2 separate regions of the Homo sapiens genome follow, and region 1 is linked to region 2. The links are contacts of gene promoters, found by promoter capture Hi-C in human tissues and cell types (Jung and others, 2019). All regions are on one chromosome and are shown on one strand. The core of a region is centred on a gene start or on the middle of the fragment in contact, and the rest is flanking DNA. Distances in the headings are between cores, read along the strand shown.

The links. Contacts are between HindIII fragments. The study calls those that stand out against the background at their distance.
Region 1: a contact is called between a fragment that was not itself captured here and the fragment with the promoter of METTL24 in region 2, in 2 of the 25 tissues and cell types used here (aorta and dorsolateral prefrontal cortex).

The regions. Positions count from the first base shown.
Region 1 is chr6:110,056,158-110,059,007 of GRCh38, forward strand. No RefSeq gene overlaps it. Among named protein-coding and RNA genes, the nearest start is that of GPR6, 79 kb to the left of the region's middle. The HindIII fragment of the contact is 6,154 bases long and covers 1-2,850 here.
Region 2 is chr6:110,356,777-110,359,703 of GRCh38, forward strand. It overlaps METTL24 (methyltransferase like 24), which reads right to left and starts at 1,573. Exons shown (of 5, transcript NM_001123364.3): 1 at 1,179-1,573. The coding sequence starts at 1,496. The HindIII fragment of the contact is 11,777 bases long and covers 1-2,927 here.

The DNA.
Region 1 (2,850 bases), core at 165-2,664, 300 kb before region 2:
TTCCACACATTTTTTGTTTATTTGTTCGTTCATTTAAAAAAATGTATTCCTTCATCCACAGAACCCACCCTCATTCTTTTCCTATCACTTTCACATAGGCAAATATTACATCAGATTATGTATGTGTATTTTGCTTTTCAGTGTTCCTATAAAATGTATGTTGTTATTTTGTATACTTGTACTTTATTTATGTGAGTGGTATTGTATTCTGTGGCTCGCTTTCTTTCTTACATTTTTTCTTTTCTTTTCTTTTCTTTTTTTTTTTTTTTTTTTGGGGGGGGGACAGGGTCTTGCTCTGCCACCCAGCCTGGAGTGCAGTGGCACAATCACTGCTCACTGCAGCCTCAAGCCATCCTCCCACCTCAGCCTCCTGAGTAGCTGGGACTATAGGAGTGTGCCACCACACTCTTTTTTTTTTTTTTTTTTTTTTTGTATTTTGTAGCAACAGGGCTTCAACATGTTGCCCAGGCTGGTCTAGAACTCCTGGTCTCAAGCAATCCACCTGCCTCAGCTTCCCAAAGTGCTGAGATTACAGATGTGAGCCACTGTGCTCGGCCTCTTTGTTACATTTTTCATTGAGCATTCTGTCTTCAAGATCCATCCAAGCTGCCATCTCATAGTAACTTGGCTGGGAATGACTGCTGCAAAATAACCCATCCTGTGTGCCCATCACGTGTCACCTCTGCTCTCCTCGTGAGGGGCACCAACTTCATTTCCAACTCCTTACTCCAACAAACAAACTGTACTGAGCAATCTCCTTGTAGATCTGGTGAGAGTTTCTTCGGGATAAATATGCAGGAGAGACTCGATGGGCATAGGGTTGCATATACTACACTTTTTTAAATGGGACAAGATTGCTCTCTCCAGAAAGACTGAACCAGCCACTCCTTCCCTCTATCAGTGCATATTGGTTCCCACATTCTTATAAAAAACTGGCATTATCCAACTTCATATTTTTGCCAGGCTAACTGGTATAAATTAATTTCTCACATTTTAATTTGCATTGTCTAATTAGTTATTTTTTAGCATCTCCTCATATGTATTATGTAGTGTTATATAATTAGCTTCTGGGGTGGCTGTACATTGCCTGTCCCTATACTTTACTCATTTTTCTATTGGAACTTCTTTTTATTTTTTAGTTGCAGGAAGTTCTTGTATAACCTAAATATTAATCCCAGGTCTAGTTTAGACATCGCAAATATTTTCTCCTATTCTGTCATCTGTCCATCTTAACTTTGTCCCTAGTGTTTTTTATTGAACAGGAATGTTTAATCTTGATTTAATTCAGTTCGTTTGTTTGCTGGTTGTTATGTTGTTTGTTGTTGTTTTGCAATGTGATTTGTGCTTTTGAAATTTTGTTTAAAAAGTCTTTCCCTGCTTCTGGGTCATAAAGATACCTCTTGTATTTACTTGGATTAACTTTATAATTTTATCTAGAAAACATTTTGGTTTCTAGTCTATTTCCAGTATGCCAGCGATGTGGTACAGAGTAGGGACCCAGTTTTATTTTTTTCTATATAGTGAGCCAGATTTCCTAATAACATTTTTACTACACAATCTGTCCTTTCCCTATTGATTTGTGGCAACGCCTCTGTCCTTCATTCATTTCCACATATATCTGTGTTTGTCCCTGACCTCTCCATTCTTCTCCATTGACCAACTTGTCTGTTCTTACTCCAAAACTACACTTAAAAGATTAATTATGGTTTCACAGCATGTCACCATCTAGTAGGATTAGCCCCCTCCCCATCTTTACACTCTTTTTTAAGGTTGATTAGTCACAAATCTTTATGTCTTTATATAAATTAATTTAACCAAGTGCCTCAAAAAACAATCTAGCTGGAGTTTTGATTAAAGTTGCATTTGATATGCAGCTTGATTTGGATAATAATTGACATCTTTTTAATACGTGTCACACCATTTGAAGTTTGGTAAAATTCGCCTGGGAGACTGACTGAGCCTGTGATTTTTGTTTGGAAGGTAGGCTTTTGACTTCAATTTGTTTAATTCTACTGACCTAGTTCAAGTTTTATTTCCTGTACCAATTTTAGCATCTCATATTTTTCTATGAATTTCTTTCTTTCATCTAGCTAGGCTTTCAAATCTAATGGCAGATGGGTATCTGTGCTCTTCTATGCTCTTCTCATCTTTGTGTTGTGATCTCCTTCTTCCCATTCTGTATTTTCATTTATGTCTTATTTTTTTCTTAATCCTTTTTTTATAGATCTCTTTTTAATACTTCAAAAAAAATTGGGCCAATCCTTTCAGTTGATTTTGTTGTGCACTATTTTATTTATTTCTGCCCTATAATGGTTTCCTTCTTTTTTCTTTGCTTTGTTGCTCTTTTGTGATTTTTCCATTAATTGCTGACTTCATTTATCATTAACATATTGTGTTTCCTAATAAATGTATTTAATACTAAATTCTTAATTAGCCAGGCATTGTGTTGTGTGCCTTGTAGTCCCAGCTACTTGGGAGGCTGAGGCAGGAGGATCTCTTGAGCTCAGAAGTTCCAGGCTGCAGTGAGTTATGTTCATGGCATGGCACTCCAGCCTAGGCAACAGAGTGAGACTCTGTCTCAAAAAGAAATACAAAAAATTTTTAAAAACCTAAATTTTCCTGAAATTTTCAGCTGGATACCACAATTTTGATATAGTTCTAATATTTTTAAAATTTATGATTTTCACTGAAAGGCTATTTAGTATGTTGTTCTGTTTCCAAACATAAGAGATTGTTTAGCTCTATTTTTCTTACTGACTTCTGCATATGTTTTTTAGTTTATTGCCTGATAGATATTTTTGTCAATGTTCCATGTGTACTTGAAATCTTTGCTTGTTTCATTTCATTGGT
Region 2 (2,927 bases), core at 323-2,822:
ACACAGGAGGTGAGGTTTGCGAGATAGAAAAAGGTATTTCAGTTTATCCAGGAAGTTAGCACGATGGCCCAGCAAGGAACAGCAGTGGTGTGGAAAAACGGAGGGCGAGGCCCGAAGGAAGCGAGGAAGTGAAGCCCGGCAGGAGTGCTGGGTTGTGGTGCTGAAAAGTAGGCTAGCACTGGGCAGCCGAAGACAGCAGCGAGGCAAAGGAAGAGTTGTTCCCTCCCCTCCAGGACCGGTGATGGGAAGCGGGGTGGAGGTTGGGGTGGATGTCTAAAAGAAACGAGGAACAGCCGGGCAACGGAAAGTAGTTGCTTTGGAGAACGTGGTTGAGGCTGGAAGCAGGAGTTGATGGGTAAAAGGATGAGGAGAGCTCATACCTGTAGTTCTTTTCATTTCCATGTACGACGCAAATTACCGAGCTCCAAAAAGGAGATGAGCCCAAAACCTTAACAATCAGAGGCTAAAAATGGACTAATCAGTGAGGTGTAAGCCAAGAAGTTAATGAGGTAGGAGGCACAACACGGTCGAGAGTTATAAGACAAACCCAGGTTATTACTTGGGTCCTCGAGGATCCAATTAACTTCTCATTAAGTGGGGCTGGGTGCTCGGCTTCTCAACTGGCGCCAGCCTCCCAGCCCCCAGCCAACGCCTGGAATGAGACTCCAGGGAAATTCGGCCAGCTGGTGGATCTTCAGCGAGATGAAGGCAGTGGCGTGGACAGGCCATTCACGGCGATACCCACCCAACTCTGTCCAGGCCTTAAGCAGAAGGCTGGGAGCAGCACAGCACATCAATGGCAGCCACAACGCCTTCCTTTCCCTTTCCCTTTCCCTGCCTATCACGCAAACACTCCCCTACTAAAGTGTATCCTCCGTGAGAACAGGGCTCCGTCCTTCTTCACGGGATGCGCGGAGCCTAGAAGGGCGCCCGGCCACGGCGACCCCCAAGTACTGGCTGAATAGTGAATGAACTCCGCTTGGCCGCACTTCAGTCTATCTGGGCACTGAAAGATGCGACCCGTGGAGCCGCCTAAGAGAGCACAGGGGGAAGAGAAGAAGCGGAAGCCTCCGGAGGTCCCATCGAGGCGGCCTGCGGGACCTGAGCGCCGGGCTCCGTAGCGCGGTCGGGAGGGGGCTTCTGGTCCCAGGCCCAAGACCGACCGCTTTGCAACTGACCTTCCGGCGGGGGCGCCCGCGCGGGGCACAGCAGCCAGGCTCCGGCGTCCCGCTCCCGCCGCCCCCCGGCGGCGCCCGGCGACCGCTGCGCACGTAGGTCACCTGCCTCCTGCTGGCGCCGCGCGGCTGGCCCGGCGCGGGCGGCAGGTGCGGCCCAGGTGGCCGCCAGGCCGGGCCCGGCGGGGCGCTGCGGGTGGGGGACCCGGGCCCGGCGCGCCGCAGCTCTGCGCAGAGCCGCAGGCCGAACAACAGCACAGCCCCGAGTAGACACCGGCGCAGGACGCCGCAGCCCCTCCCGGGCGGCCTCTCCCGGGCCATGGCGCTACACTCGGGGTCCCGCGGGCCGCGCCTGGCCGGCAGCAGGGATGTAGCCCCACAGGCCGGAGCGGCCAACTGTGGGAACTCCCCCGCGGGCCGGGGTGCGGGCTCGGACCCGCCTCCCTCCCTCCCGACCGAGGAAGCCCCGGCGTAACCTTATCCTGCCCTGCCGAGCGCGCCCCGCCGCTGGAACGGTGGTGGGCCGAACGCGGTCACAGGGGGCCCTCTCCGCCCCTCCGGAGGTGCCAGGGCCCGGCTGTACAGGGTCCCTCAAGAGGTGCCCTCCGCCCCGGCCTCCAAAGCCTGACGGAGCTGAAAGACATAGGGCCAGAAAAAGCGCATTCCTAACGGGATCCCGGGCCATAACTTCATTTTCTGGTATTAGTGTTGTTGGAGAAACACAGGAGGAGGGTAGGTGAGCATACAAGGAACAGTCAAGCAGTTTGCACCATTAAGCACAATATAAAAATAAATAGCACTTATGCCCGGGCTTACAACTTCTCTCTCTCTCTCAAGAAAGAAAGGGATTGGGGGGCGAAGAGAATAGCACTCAATGCAGAATAATCAAATTAGAGTTATTCTATGTCTAAATTCTGCCTGAAGCCAATTCGTGCTTTCTTTCCGTGTTATGAAATGTGTGGGGGTGAAGAAGAAGAGGGAAAAAGCCAGCTAAGACATCTGACAGCGGGTTGGTGAGGAGGGGGGAGAGAGAACAGAAGTTACCATGGCATGATGTAAATCAAATTAATTTAGCTCCAAACACACACCTCCCTGCTGTCTCGCAGAAATACAGAGGGACAAATTTATCTTTCGGCAAAATGCTCCCCAGCTGGTATTTCCATCACCACCTTGACCTTAATTAATCAGACTGAACTCTCACAGCCTGAAGTCCAGTGGTGGATGTTCCATTTTCAATTGTTAGTAGAATCCTTTCCCACAACCCATTTGGGGTGGGTTTGGGTTTTAGGTTTGAGTTTGGGTTTAGATTTTTTTAAGCTGTAGTCACTTTTCTTTTTTTCCTTGCTTTACTCTTGCATTTTCCATGCTTCCATGGGAGACTGCGCCTGTAGACCTATCCTCTTCCCCCGTAACAGCCTACAGCATGGACAAGAGAGAACAAATATGGGGCCCTACCCCCCTGCCCTTTTGAATGTTGGGTATTTTCCGTAGGAAGCCCTCGTCTCTAAAATCCTCTTCTCTTCCTGGCTTAAGAAAGACCCAATTTATTCCCTGCTAGTGAACAAAGCACTTGGGCTGTTTCTCTACATGTAACAAAATATCTCCACCCAGTCTAGTCCACCCCCTGGCCACACCAGATCCTCAGGCTCCTGAACGTTCCATTAGGATTGACTTTTGCTTTTTTCTTAGATGAGTCCAGGGGATATTGCAGATGGGTTCTATTTTAACAAATTTAAACAAGTACGAGTTTTT